2 separate regions of the Homo sapiens genome follow, and region 2 is linked to region 1. The links are contacts of gene promoters, found by promoter capture Hi-C in blood cells and fetal thymus (Javierre and others, 2016). All regions are on one chromosome and are shown on one strand. The core of a region is centred on a gene start or on the middle of the fragment in contact, and the rest is flanking DNA. Distances in the headings are between cores, read along the strand shown. Region 1 holds the start of CDKN2AIP (CDKN2A interacting protein). Region 2 overlaps TRAPPC11 (trafficking protein particle complex subunit 11).

Region 1 (6,851 bases), core at 4,154-6,653:
CGAAATTAATCAAACGAAAATCTGTGAACCTGTAGAGAAAGTCCATAGTTCTCTAACTTCACATCAGTAGATGCCCAAGGGGCCTTTCTGTTTTTTCGTTTTTGTTTTTGTTTTTTTGAGATGGAGTCTCACTCTGTCACCCAGGCTGGAGTGCAGTGGTGCGATCTTGGCTCACTGAAACCTCCGCCTCCCTGGTTCATGCAATTCTCTGCCTCAGCCTCCCAAGTAGCTGGGATTACAGGCGCCCGCCACCACTCCCGGCTAATTTTTGTATTTTTTTAGTAGAGACGGGGTTTCACCATGTTGGCCAGGCTGGTCTTGAACTCCTGACCTCAGGTGATCCACCCGCCTCAGCCTCCCAAAGTGCTGGGATTACAGGCATGAGCCACCGCGTAGAGGTCAATTGCGACACTACAGGAAAAGAAGGTAAAGTGGAGTCACATCTGACTTCCATTTACATGCTGGTTTTAGAAACTCACCCCCATGAAAGATATAACTTCGCAATCTACTTAATCCTCACAGCAGCAAACAAATTTATTAACATTTATTAATGTTAAGGCTTAATGTAAAAACAATGGCATAAATCCTGCAGGTAAGTAGGAAAACTTCAGAATTATCCATCTGCTGTCGATTTATCACTAGAGATTAGATTTTATCCTGAACGCATATTTTGGGAATATCTAAATATCTGTAATATGGTCTCTCCAGAATTTTCTTACATGATGTGGAAATCAAGAGCTACCTGCCTGAAGTTGATAGATTTAAAAATGATGATTAAGTATAATATTTGAATTTATGACAGGTAGCCAACGGGAAAACAATAAAAGATAACAAAAATTAGGAGAAAAAAGGGGTAGTGTAAATGATATGGATTTCTCAGCTTCAACATTCAGGAGTGAAATAAGTACTGCTTAAAGTTGAAAAAATAAGAAATGGAAGTATAAGCATTTAATTTGGAGTTATGAAAATAATCACCCAAAGAAATCAAGATAGAAATGACATGAATGCTGATGTCCACAGAGTGGGACCAGGTTGAGTGAGGGAGATTGTTTGCTTTCATTTATGCCTCTTTTTTTCTACTTAGATGTTTCATTTTTGTGTGCACACATTATATTTTTATTTTATTTTAATTTTTGAGACAGTCTCCCTTTATCGCCCAGGCTGGAGTGCAGCGGTGCGATCACAACTCACTGCAACCTCGACCTCGTGGGCTCAAGTGATCCTCCCACCTTAGCCTCTTGAGTAGCTGGAACTAGAGGTATGTACCAACACACCCAACTATGTTTTGTATTTTTTGTAGAGACAGGGTCTTGCCATGTAGACTAGGCTGGCCTTGAACCCCTGGGCTCAAGTAATCTGCCCACCTTGGCCTCCCAAAGTGTTAGGATTACAGGTGTGAGCCACCACGCCCAGCCTGTAATTTTAAATTGGCCAAAAAGACTATGTTCATCTAGGCAGCCTGCTCTTCTGCCCTCTAAAATATCCATTGCGAGCATTCTCTGCACCATCAGATGGCCTCCATGTCAACGTCTCAGCTCCAAACTTACAAACGTCTTCTTTTAAAACAGAGGAAGTGTCTGCCCACCTAAGGTTAATCTCTCCACCTGTGTGTGGATCCCAGCCACACCTATGTCTGCAGAAATTGCTAATTACCCTCTTTTTCTTCAGATCCTCAAACTCTCCTTTTCTGTGAGTTGCCTTCAAGCAGTGGGCAACATGCTCAGGCTACTCCCATCTGAAATTGAAGCCACCTTGACCCCATGACCCTGTCCAGCTTCCTCTATCTTCTCCCCTTTACAGCCAAATATCTCCATTTCCGACTCCTGAACTCACTCTGATATGGAGTCTTCATCACTGCAGTAAAAACGGCTTTTGCCAAGCTCACAGGTGGCTCCAGTCCGTAATCAGACTGTTACTACCTATCTTCATCCTACTTGATTTCTCAAAGCTTCTAACAGAGGGGATCACTCTTAAAACATTCTCTTACTTTTTCAGAACATCCCACCTTATCACTGTAATTTGGCAGATTTGTGTCCTCACACATCATTAGCATAAAATATTTCCCCTCACCATGAAGTATTTCTCACATCAAGTCATAACCTTGGCCATAACTGGAGTATTTGCTCCTCACAAGCCTCTCCACATGCAGACCTTCCTGCCAAAGGCTTTCTTGCTTCCACAGTCACATCCAGGAACAGGGGCAATCCCTTCATGTTGCTCCATGGGAAAGCCATCTGCAGAAAAGCCAGCTTGCCGCTGGAATTTTTATTGGATGTCTTCAGAGAGATATGCTACAGAACCAGTTTCAGTGAATGGGCTTCCACTTACAGCAGAAAATTTAATCCTGTGAACTCAGTCACTTGTTTGAAACTCAATTTGGGATGATAGTGGATCTTTCTCAATTCATTAGAATTCTCTCCCTTTTCTCCTCTGAGTAGATTTCTAGTGAGGGCAGTGGTGGGGTGAGGCTTGGTTATCATCCTAGCATTGTCTTGTGCTTTCTTCCCTGTGGGCTCTGCTGGGAGTATAACTGCTTGATCTACCAGCACAAGCAATGCACACTGATCATTTCAGGAGAGGTTGAGGGTCCTCTCCTATTGATGCGGCCTGACGGGCACTGGTCTGATGACTTGCTGAAAACTAGCTGCATCTCCCTTTGCTGACAAGCTGACCACCCCTAGCCTCATTCACCTTGGACCCTGGTGCTTGGTAGGCACTTCACCATTCAACTCTTTCTTGGGAACCTTTTGGATCTCCTCTAGGCCCTGTGAGATATATGTGCGTAAATGCGTGTGTGTGTGTTATGTATATATACACACACACATATGTATATATATATACACACGTGTGTTAGGAGCAGAGGAGGGAGTTGTATAGTTGGTTATCAAAGCTATAAAAGGCCCTTTCTATGTTCATTTCTAAAGGCCAACGCATACAGGCTCAGGGCACGATTGGGCTGTCTTCTCTCAGAAACTCGGGCAGAGCCAAGTCCTTCTGCTCTTAGACCCAAAATCTACCTAGCAATTTCTAACAGCCAACACTTCCCACCCTGCATCTTATTCCCTACTCCCATAGACTTTCCTAGTTATCACCTAAATTCTCCTCTCACCTTTTCTCTCAGAACGTCTCCCCCAGCTTAGAGAGGAATTTGTCTCTGTAGGTGGGAGGGTCTTTAAAAAAAAATGAGGCCGGGCACAGCGACTCATGCCTATAATCCCAGCACTTTGAGAGGCCGAGGCAGAAGAATTGCTTGATATTAGGAGTTCAAAACCAGCCTGGACAACAGTGAAACCTTGTTTCTACAAAAAAATAAAAAATTAGCCTGTCGTCGTGGTACCCGCCTGCAGTCCCAGCTACTTGTGGTTCATAGTCTTTGAATCTTTATATGCAAAGTCAACTTTTTAAGAATCAAAAAAGAAAAATGCATGTATCTTTTATTCCAAGCACCTGGTTTTTGCACAAGTACTCCATCTTTCAGACTCTATCGCTTTTATTATAATTAAAAAAATTGTTTGAAATTCAGGCTCTACTTGTTCTCCTTTCAAGGCAATGAAGCCCATGAGTGGGAAGAAGACTACAGGGCAACAAGAAAAAAAGTGAGAACATTATTATTATTATTTTTTGAGATGAAGTCTCACTCTGTCACCCAGGCTGGAGTGCAATGGCTTGGTCTCGGCTCACTGCAACCTCTGCCTCCTGAGTTCAAGCGATTCTCCCGCCTCGGCCTACAGAGTAGCTGGGACTACAGGCACGTGCCACCACACTTGGCTAACTTTTGTATTTTTAGTAGAGATGGGGTTTCACTACATTGGCCAGGCTGGTCTCGAACTCCTGACCTCATGATTCGTCCGCCTCGGCCTCCCAAGGTGCTGGGATTACAGGCGTGAGCCACTGCACCTGGCCGTGAGAACATTCTTGATTTAAAATGCACATATATAATCTAGGTATGCGATCATAGCTTCTTTTACTTGCCATGGTCCCCTTGCCAAAGAATTCATGAAAGGAGAAATCGTAATTTCTCCACCTTTTAAATAGCCAGATTTCTGCAATCCGTCCACCCCCTCTAGATTTTCAGCAATTATCTGTGAAAAGGAGGAAAGAACAGCAAACTAGAAGCAAAATCACAAAGCTTCAAAATTTCTTTGTGCCTCCGTTTTTATGTAGTTTCTTTTGGTATGGCAGGAAAATGGGCAATATTGTTTTCATACAATAGCTGTATTTTGTTCCAGCATGCACATAAATTACACAGTTAACCTTATCTGATCTTACCTAAAGTGACCTTTTTTTGCTTGCTTATTCTGATTCATGCATTTTTACATCAAAGTCTACATTTATTGAAAGAAAAATTTCATAATTTATATCATTTAACGTATTTATCTTACAGTGCATGTATACCTGGAATGGGAAACGTAACAATAAGCCAGCCAGCAGTTAGAGTACGTAACTGTGGGAAATGTAAAGTGGAAAAAAATATATAGAAGGAAAAAACAGCTCTAACAGGGAGAGAGGTTTGGGGCCCTATAGATAAATAGGTACATTTCCACTCCACCTCCGGACATCTGCCGGTTGGTGGTAAAGCTGTTGATTTTAGGAAATTCTAGAGACAGAGCGTTGTCGGGGTGTTGTTTTCCTACTGACCAGAACAGGAAGGCAATGCCTGGATTAACTAGAGACCTAATAAACTGCGGGAACAAGCCCTACCGCTGCGGGGCCAGGGCCAGCTTCGAAGGCTGCAAGCCTCACGGCAACACGGAGCCAGGTCCTCGTGTGACCTTACTGTCTACTGCTGCTATGTAAGGGGACTGGCACTCCCGCCCTCCTGAAGGCGCGGAGACCCCGACGGCCTCGGAACGCTTCGCTCGGGCACACTGAAAGCAGCGCGAGACGCAGCTCCCAACACTCTAACATGGAGGCCGGCTTTTGTTTGTTTTGGCCCCGCTCACACACAGGCGTCTCAGGGCGGAGACCACAGGCCCCGCGGCTGCGGGCGGCTCAAGGTCCCCCGGGACGCCCCCCTAGCGGACTTTGGCCGCCGCGCCCGGCTGCCTCCCTTGCCCGGGCCCTGCCCCTCTCGCCTCTGCTCCCGGCGCCGCAGCTGACCCGGCGGGGGAGGAGGACGGCAGGAGCGCGCGGCGTCACAAAGCGAGGACAGAACGCCCGGGGTTCCGCCGAGACTCGGTCGTCCCAGGCCAGCTCGACTTGCAGTCCGCCCTCGTGGGGCGGGAGACGCCCGACGCCCGCCCACCTCACCCCCGGGGTGCCCTCCGTGGCCTCACGGGGACGCAGCGTCGCAGCGGCCCCGGCGCCGCAAAGCGTCTTGGGAGCGCCGGCTCGCGCCGGAAGAACGCGAGGGCGCGCGGCGGCGGCGAGGTTATAAAAGGGAAGAAGCCGGCGGTGGGCGGAAGTGGGCGGTTCGGCGGCTCTGGGCGCTGTTGTTTGGTCTTTAGGCCTGCGGAGGGGCGTTATCTGGAGGGCCGCGGGTGCAGGCCGCAGTGACAGGGCCGCTCGCCCCGCTAGTCCTGCCTGTCTCCCGGTGCAGCTGTGTTCGCGGCCTGCAGGCCCAACATGGCGCAGGAGGTGTCGGAGTACCTGAGCCAGAACCCGCGGGTGGCAGCCTGGGTGGAGGCGCTGCGCTGCGACGGCGAGACTGACAAACACTGGCGCCACCGCCGGGATTTTTTGCTTCGCAACGCCGGGGACCTGGCCCCCGCTGGCGGCGCTGCCTCCGCTAGCACGGATGAAGCTGCCGACGCCGAGAGCGGGACCCGAAACCGGCAGCTGCAGCAGCTCATCTCCTTTTCCATGGCCTGGGCGAACCACGTCTTCCTCGGGTGCCGGTGAGTGAGGCAGCGTCCCTAACCAGCACGCCTCGTTTTGTGTGCCACCTGCAGACCGGGGCCCGGCGCCCTCCGCGGGACCGGCCTCGGCGGGGAGGGGAAGTTGTGAAGCGCGGGAATCCGCCGGCCCGGCTGCCCTCTAAGGGGGAGAAGGGCGTCCCTGCGAGGAGCCGACATGATTCCCGGACGTCTGTGTGCCCGGTGGTGTGGGCGCAGCTGCTGGTAGGGTTGCTTGTGTTAGGGAACAACGCTCTTGGGGACGGGTGCGAGATTTAAGATTAGTGAGGAGGTGCCCTGCCTCCCAGACCCTGGGGCACTTGTTTATGGGGTTCCAGGAAACAGTTCTTGGCGGTTGGTTCACTTTCTTGATTGCAGCCAGGAAATGCAGTCCCTGTGGCCTGTTTTTTGCACAAGTAGGACCTTAGAAAAAACACTTTTTAAAAATGACTTTTCCTTCTTTTTCAGATACCCTCAAAAAGTTATGGATAAAATACTTAGTATGGCTGAAGGCATCAAAGTGACAGATGCTCCAACCTATACAACAAGAGATGAACTGGTTGCCAAGGTGAAGAAAAGAGGGATATCGAGTAGCAATGGTTAGCAGATCATAGATGTGAACATACATAGGAGTTTAGAGCATAAGTTTGATATAATTAGGAATTATTGTTACTAATTTTTTTAACAAGCCAGAATTTTTATGTTATTAATAAGTAATAAAGTTGGAATGTTAAACCTAAAGTATATATCTGTGTCTTTAGGCTTTGAATTTGATAGTTTGCTTTGACTGCTTTAGATTTTGAAGTGTCCACTGTTGTCTGATGCTGTTATTTTTTTAATATTAGACATTCATGATGTTATTCAACACTGTTTTAAGAAATTAATGACTCCACACTTTTTAAAGAAACGATTAGTCTTGAAATGTTTTCACTTTGTGCCTTTATTTTAATGTGTATTTGTCTCATCACCCGTTTTGTACGAGGTATTCTTAGTCACATATCTATGTTTTTCTTCTTT
Region 2 (6,797 bases), core at 2,448-4,947, 230 kb after region 1:
TCTATAACTTAGAAGCTAGAATGTCCTTCACCTGAAAACCGGTAGCTCTCTTTCCTGGAATCGGTGCTCGTTTTTCAAAGTTCAGTTGCAGTGGCTAAAATATATGTTTGTATGCTCTGAAAAATGTGCTTGCTTGATATGCTAGTGCAGTGGTGGCAGAAAATGGACTCCAGGTGATCTTTATATGAATATTGCTAAGAGTAAATATACATGTGTTCTAATAAAAAGTTAGAATAAGGAGCAGCTCGTAATTAAAAGTTTAACCTAAATTATCTGGTAGGATAAATTCTATTTCGAGACAGGTCAAACAATAAAATACAGATAATTGTGTGCGTATTTGTATATGTGTATGTACGTGTGCATCTTGTCTAGCTCAAAACAAGTTGATCAGGTTCCTACCTTCATAAAGAAGCTGATTTAACTGTGGAGACCAAAAGCATCCATGTTAAATTCCACAGAGCACTGCAAGTGTAAATTCTGTAATATAGTTTGTAAGTCTTACAGGATTTCAGAGAAGAAATAAATAGATGTGACCTGGGAAGGTTTAAGGAAGAGGAAGGCCTGCAACTGTGCTTGAAGGTGTGGATTAGTGGGAGGAAGTAGTGGTTATTTTGGACAGAGGAATGTCATAAAAAAGCATGGACATCTGAAGTTCAGCTAGTTTAAATCACTAAATGGGAAGACTGAATCGGTTGGATTTTTTTTTATTGTAGAACAAAAAAAACTGAAGGTCTCTTTCCTTAAAAGAGCATTCTTAATGTTTGGTGTTGCCTTAAAAGTGTAATGTTTGAGTATCTGGTAAGAGAATTGGTCTTTTCACTAACAGCCTTATGTCTTGACTAGATTTGTCGTTTATTTATTTATGTTTGTGAAACTGGTTATAAGGTTTTCTCCAAATAAGCCTCAAATAATAAAGAAGTGTATGAATTAAAAAGTGGAAGCCTTACAACACTTATGCTCTATCCCGTGATGTCTCTGTAGCCTGTTACGGTTAAAGCGAGGGAAAGATTTGACTCTGTATCCCTCAGTTTAGAGGAAATAATAGCACTTACCAAGCCTACTTACTCTCAGTCTTCTGTATTGACTGTTTAACAGGTGTTTTATCTCTAAGTACACATTCAGCTTGAAAACTAAAACCACACTTATCTTTGATATTTACTGAGACAATCTAGATTAATAATACTGATTCTCTATTGAGAAGGATTTTTTGTTTTTGTTTTTTGAATCATTCAGAATAGTCTGTAGACATATTTCTGGCTACCATAACATTAGATATTCTAGTCAGTGCCTTGTTGCTACCCGTTCGCAAATTTTTTTTTTTTTTTTTTTTGAGATGGAGTCTCGCTCTGTTGCCCAGGCTGGAGTACAGTGGCGTCATCTCCGTTCATTGCAAGCTCCGTCTCCTGGGTTCATGCCATTCTCCTGCCTCAGCCTCCTGAGTAGCTGGGACTACAGGTGCCCACCACCACACCTGGCCAATTTTTTGTATTTTTATTAGAGACAGGGTTTCACCGTGTTAGCCAGGCTGGTCTTGATCTCCTGACCTCGTGATCCGCCTCTGCCTCCCAAAGTGCTGGGATTACAAGCGTGAGCACTGTGCCCGGCCCCCATTTGCAAAATTTAAAGGATAGCTTAGGTTAATACATTCCTTCACACATTATTTGGTTCAAGGTTAGATTCTAATTTTGTCATATTTTAACATTTTTAAAACTACAGTTTTGAAAATAGAAAAATCTTAAAAGGCCGGACATGAGGGTTTATGCCTGTAATCCCAATACTTTGGGAGATCGAGGCATTTGGATCGTTTAAGTCCAGGAATTTGAGACCAGCCTGGGCAACATGGTGAAACCCCGTCTCTACAAAAAATATAAAAATTAGCTGGGCGTGGTCATGTATGCATGTAGTTCCAGCCACTCTGGAGGCTGAGGTGGGTAGATCACTGGAGCCCAGGAGGCTGAGGCTGTGGTGAGACTTGATTGCACCACTGCACTCCAGCCTGGGCAACAGAGCGGGACCCTGTCTCAAAAATGAAATGAAATGAAATGAAATAATGAAATGAAATGAAATGAAATATCTTAACCTAGAAAATCAAATATAAAATATAATAGCTGATATTTAAGTTCGTCTTTTATCTGGCTATGAGTTCTGCTTTCTTTCACGCCCTAGGCAGATAACTCCTGATAACTTCTTTTCACCAAAGAAAGCTTGAGTTGTGTATCCATCTCTGGTCAGATTTTCTTGTTCCTATGTAAGTTATAGAATGATGGAGGATTTAAATCACACAAATGTTTTCACCTTATTTGCCAGTTCTCATTTTTGGTTCTTTCCCCATTAGTTTTCTTATTCTTTTAAATCCTAAATACTAAAATCACCAAAAAACTGAAATCTAATTGATTAATAATTTTTTTCAGACTTTTTATAAAAATATAAAATAGTAGGGGCGAATGTGCTTTTAGAGATTCCAATCAAATTTTAGGCCAGGAGCGGTGGCTCACACCTGTGATCCTAATCCCAGCACTTTGGGAGGCCAAGGTGGGCGGATCACTTGAGGTCAGGAGATCAACACCAGCCCTGCTGGCCAACATGGTAAAACCTCACCTAAACTAAAAATATAAAAATTAGCTAGGCATGGTGGCACATGCCTATAGTCCCAGCTACCTGATAGGCTGAGACACAGGAATCGCTTGAACCAGGGAAGTGGAAGTTGCAGTGAACCAAGATTGCGTCACTGCACTCCAGCCTGGGTAGTGACAGAGCCAGACCCTGTCTCAAAAAAAAAAAAAAAAAAAAAAAAAGATTACCAAGTTTTTATGAATCAGAGAAAGGTATTTTTATTTGTTGTATCCTGTATTATAAATAATTTTAAATGGCTTTTGGATGGTCTTGTTTTTAGACTTTTTGATCTGAAAATTCAGGTTATCTTTTGCTTCACTTTGTCTTATTCATAATGTAAAACAGATATTTCTGTCACCATTTTACTTTCAGGTCTCACAAATATTCTTGAAAAGTTTGGTTTAAAATAATTCAATATGTAAATGCTTGTTTGTTTTTGTTTTTTACAGATTGGAAAATGCCTTTTATGAACATGCACAGACTTATTACTACACTGAGATCAGAAGAGTGAAATCTCATAAAGAATTTTTGAATAAAACAACACACCAGGTGCGTGATTTTTTGCAATAATAGAAGCATTCTGGAGCGGATTATTATTATTTTTGAGGTGATTATTACATGTTCTTAATACTTTAATGTTTTAAATGGTTTCAGCATTTCTAAAGTTTTTTTCAATGCTTTTAAAAATTAATTTGTTTTTAAATTAAACTCTTTGCTTTTAAAGTTCTTAAAGGTAGATTTTTATAGCCTTCTTAATTGTGCCTTTATTTGTGGGAATAATTCTTGTATTTCAGTTTTGAATATTTTTCTTCATTCTTTTATGTCTCCTCATAATAAACATTATAATTTTCACATTTTAAATAGAATATGTATAATAGTAATTTTTTTGTCTCTTTTTAGCTTTTATTTGTTAGGCATCAGTTCAAAATAGCTTTCTTCAGTGAGTTGAAACAAGATACACAAAATGCGCTGAAGTAAGTTAAGCTTTCAAACTAAATGTTTCCTATTTTTATATTAACAATAACATGTGATGGAAATTTCTGAATCTCAGCCAAAGTATAATTAAGTTTAAAGTGTTCATATTGCTTAGATTTAGGAATTAGTGTAGAGATGAATGGAGTATAATATTTTAGGATTTTTAAAAATTTTCATTTTATTATTGGAAGTAAATTTCATTGTGTCATAAAGCTTTCTGGTTTGATTAATTAAATTTTATGAGCCACAGAAATGTAATATTAAAATTTTCCCCATCTTCTTGACTTTATTTTGTGTATACTCTGTAAAATTCTTGTAAGAGGCTGATTTAAACATTATCTAAATCGGACTTTGTTTTTCCAAAATAAATTTTTAAATGTGCCTCTTCACAAATTTGCATGTCATCCTTGCGCAGGAGCCACGCTAATCTTCTCCGTGTTGCTCCAATTTTAGCATATATGCTGCTGAAGTGAGCACCAGACTATTGATTTTTATAGGTTTATACACTAGTACATTTATTAAATTCAATTTTTTAAATTAAATTTTAATGTTATCAGTCAGTTGCATCATTTTCCATTTGAAGTCTCTGCTTAGAGCCTTGAAGATTAGTTGCAGATGTGTTGGCAGTGGTTAAATATTTTAGTCCTTTGCTTTTACGAAGCAGAATTCAATGAAACTTGACCTCTTTGTAGCTTTAACTCACTTTTTGAAGACAAAGGTATTAAAAACAGCTATTTATCCCAAAATTGAGGAGGGCAAAGAAAAATAGAAATAAATAAAAATAATTTTATTATTCACAGGAATATTGCAGAAACATCTTATTTTTGTTGTTGTTTTGAGATGTTTAAGTACCAAAGCACCAAGTTGTGTTTCCTGAATCTCAACAACTTCATATAACTGGCTTTAATGTAGTTCATTTTTTTTTTTTGAGACAGAGTTTTGCTCTTGTTGCCCAGGCTGGAGTGCAGTGGCGCGATCTCGGCTCACTGCAACCTCTGCCTACTGGATTCAAGTGATTCTCCTGTCTCAGCCTCCCGAGTAGCTGGGACTACAGGTGCCTGCCACCACGCCCAGCTAATTTTTATATTTTTAGTAGAGACAGGGTTTCACCATGTTGGCCATGCTGGTCTCGAACTCCTGACCTCAGGTGATCCACCCACCTTGGCCTCCCAAAATGCTGGGATTACAGGTGTGAGCCACTGCGCCTGGCCTGTAGTTCATTTTTATCGATGGTATTAGTTTAAATCCTTCAATTTCAGTTCTGTTCAAAAATAATTCTGGAAAGAAATACATTTACCTGGAAAAGTTATGAACAAACTTTTTCTATGAAAAGCCTGTTTTGAGATTTCCTCATTTCCTTCCATGTGCAAGGTAGGCCCTGTTCCCAGCAGGCCCTCCTTTCTCACCATGCTTCTCCTTCAGCGTGAGCTGCCCGAAGGACATCTTTCCCTGCTCTGTAGACTTTACCTGAGGCCAGTAATATTCACTTAACCTGTAGAGGTACTTGGGGTTAAAAAGCTGTTGACCTGTGCTGCTGTTTTTTTGAGATGGCATCTCCCTCTGTTACCTGGGCTGGACTGTGGTGGCACGATCTCAGCTCACTGCAGTCTCTGCCTCCTGGGTTCAAGGGATTCTCCTGCCTCAACTTCCTGAGTAGCTGGGATTACAGGCTTGTGCTACCACACCCGGCTAACTTTTGTATTTTTAGTAGAGACGGGGTTTCACCCTGTTGGCCAGGCTGATCTGAAACTCCTGACCTCAAGTGATCCGCCCACCTCAGCCTCTCAAAGTGCTGGGATTACAGGTGTGAGCCACCGTGCCTGGCTGACCTGTGCTGTCTTGATACCACCTTTGCTAATAAAATTTCTATTTGTTTGAGAGCTTGTAATGGTACTTTAAAATACTTATGTTTTTTAACAGAATGCTGATTTTTCTGGACAGTTGTCCAATTTCCTTTTTTAAGTTATCTGTTTGTTACTGACAGATGTTAATGACAGGAAGAACAACGCACATGTCATGGTTCTGTTCTTTATGAAATCATTGATTCCTCTCATATATTTAATAACTAATGGCTCATTTATCAGGAAATCAGAGATTGACATTATTGAGCTGTTGAGCACTAAAATGTTGAGTAAATATTCTTTGTTATTTCTAGTGATTTGGTTCTTAGAAATCGTTTATTAAACTAATTTATATCATTAACCACCCTCCTCATTTAGGAATTATAGGACCGCCTATAATCTTGTACACGAATTGAGAGCCCATGAAACTAATATTCTGGAAATTAAGACTATGGCAGGATTTATAAACTACAAGGTAATAATTCTGCTTCCAAATACAGGGAATTTGTGTTTCAATATTAAATTATCTTTTTAAAATTTGAACATCAAAATTAATTTCTTGCTCTGAAAAGTTAGTATTTGATTAATTATGATCTCCCCTTTTATATCCTTTTTCTCAGAAGGGCATCGATTCTTAGCAGGCTATTTATAGTAGTTGTATTTTGAATTGATAAGTTCTAGAGGTTTTAAAAGTTTGGAGGGTTTTTTGGTTTTTGTTTTGTTTTTCAGTGGGAGCAAGGAGGAGTTGAGAAGAAAGCTGCCTGTATTACTGAGTTTTAAAGGATAAAATTATTAGAACTATGTGACTTCTTCTTGGTTTAATGGCACAGAAAAGAAGTGTCTATTCACCTTAGAGGAAACTTTTTTTTTTTTTTTTTGAGACGGAGTTTTGCTCTGTTGCCAGGCTGGAGTGCAGTGGTGGGATCTCGGCTCACTGGAACCTCTGCCTCCTGGGTTCAAGCAATTCTTCTGCCTCAGCCTTCTGAGTAGCTGGGAGTACAGGCATGCGCCACCACACCCAGCTAATTTTTGTGTTTTTAGTAGAGACATGGCTTCACCATGTTGGCCAGGATGGTTTCGATCTCTTGACCTCGTGATCCACCTGTCTCGGCCTCCCAAAGTGCTGGAATTACGGGTGTGAGCCACCACGCCCAGCCAGAGGAAACTTTTATACCTACTGTTTGAGCATTTTATTTTGAGATTGTCTATCACAGGAATAGGTGCCCTCAGAAGTCAAGCAACGGCTGTTTGGTTTGCTTTTAGTTTTTTCACATTCATCTTAAAGATGCCTGACTCTGTGTTGGTGATGTATGGCCAAATAGATACTTTAATTCGCTGTTTTTTTCTAATAGGAAAAGATTAGAAACA

Evidence for each region. Contacts are between HindIII fragments. The CHiCAGO score rates a contact against its expected background, and 5 or more counts as called.
Region 2: a contact is called between a fragment that was not itself captured here and the fragment with the promoter of CDKN2AIP in region 1, in 4 of 17 cell types (megakaryocytes, naive CD4 T cells, total CD8 T cells and 1 more). The highest score is 5.7, in megakaryocytes.

The regions. Positions count from the first base shown.
Region 1 is chr4:183,439,233-183,446,083 of GRCh38, forward strand. CDKN2AIP (CDKN2A interacting protein) reads left to right here and starts at 5,404. Exons shown (of 3, transcript NM_017632.4): 1 at 5,404-5,837; 2 at 6,303-6,433. The coding sequence starts at 5,566. RefSeq lists a silencer at 4,879-5,428 and an enhancer at 5,709-5,858. The HindIII fragment of the contact is 3,011 bases long and covers 4,128-6,851 here.
Region 2 is chr4:183,671,651-183,678,447 of GRCh38, forward strand. It overlaps TRAPPC11 (trafficking protein particle complex subunit 11), which reads left to right. Exons shown (of 30, transcript NM_021942.6): 6 at 3,063-3,162; 7 at 3,514-3,587; 8 at 5,808-5,904. It also overlaps the pseudogene RNU6-335P. Among named protein-coding and RNA genes, the nearest start is that of TRAPPC11, 16 kb to the left of the region's middle. The HindIII fragment of the contact is 204 bases long and covers 3,596-3,799 here.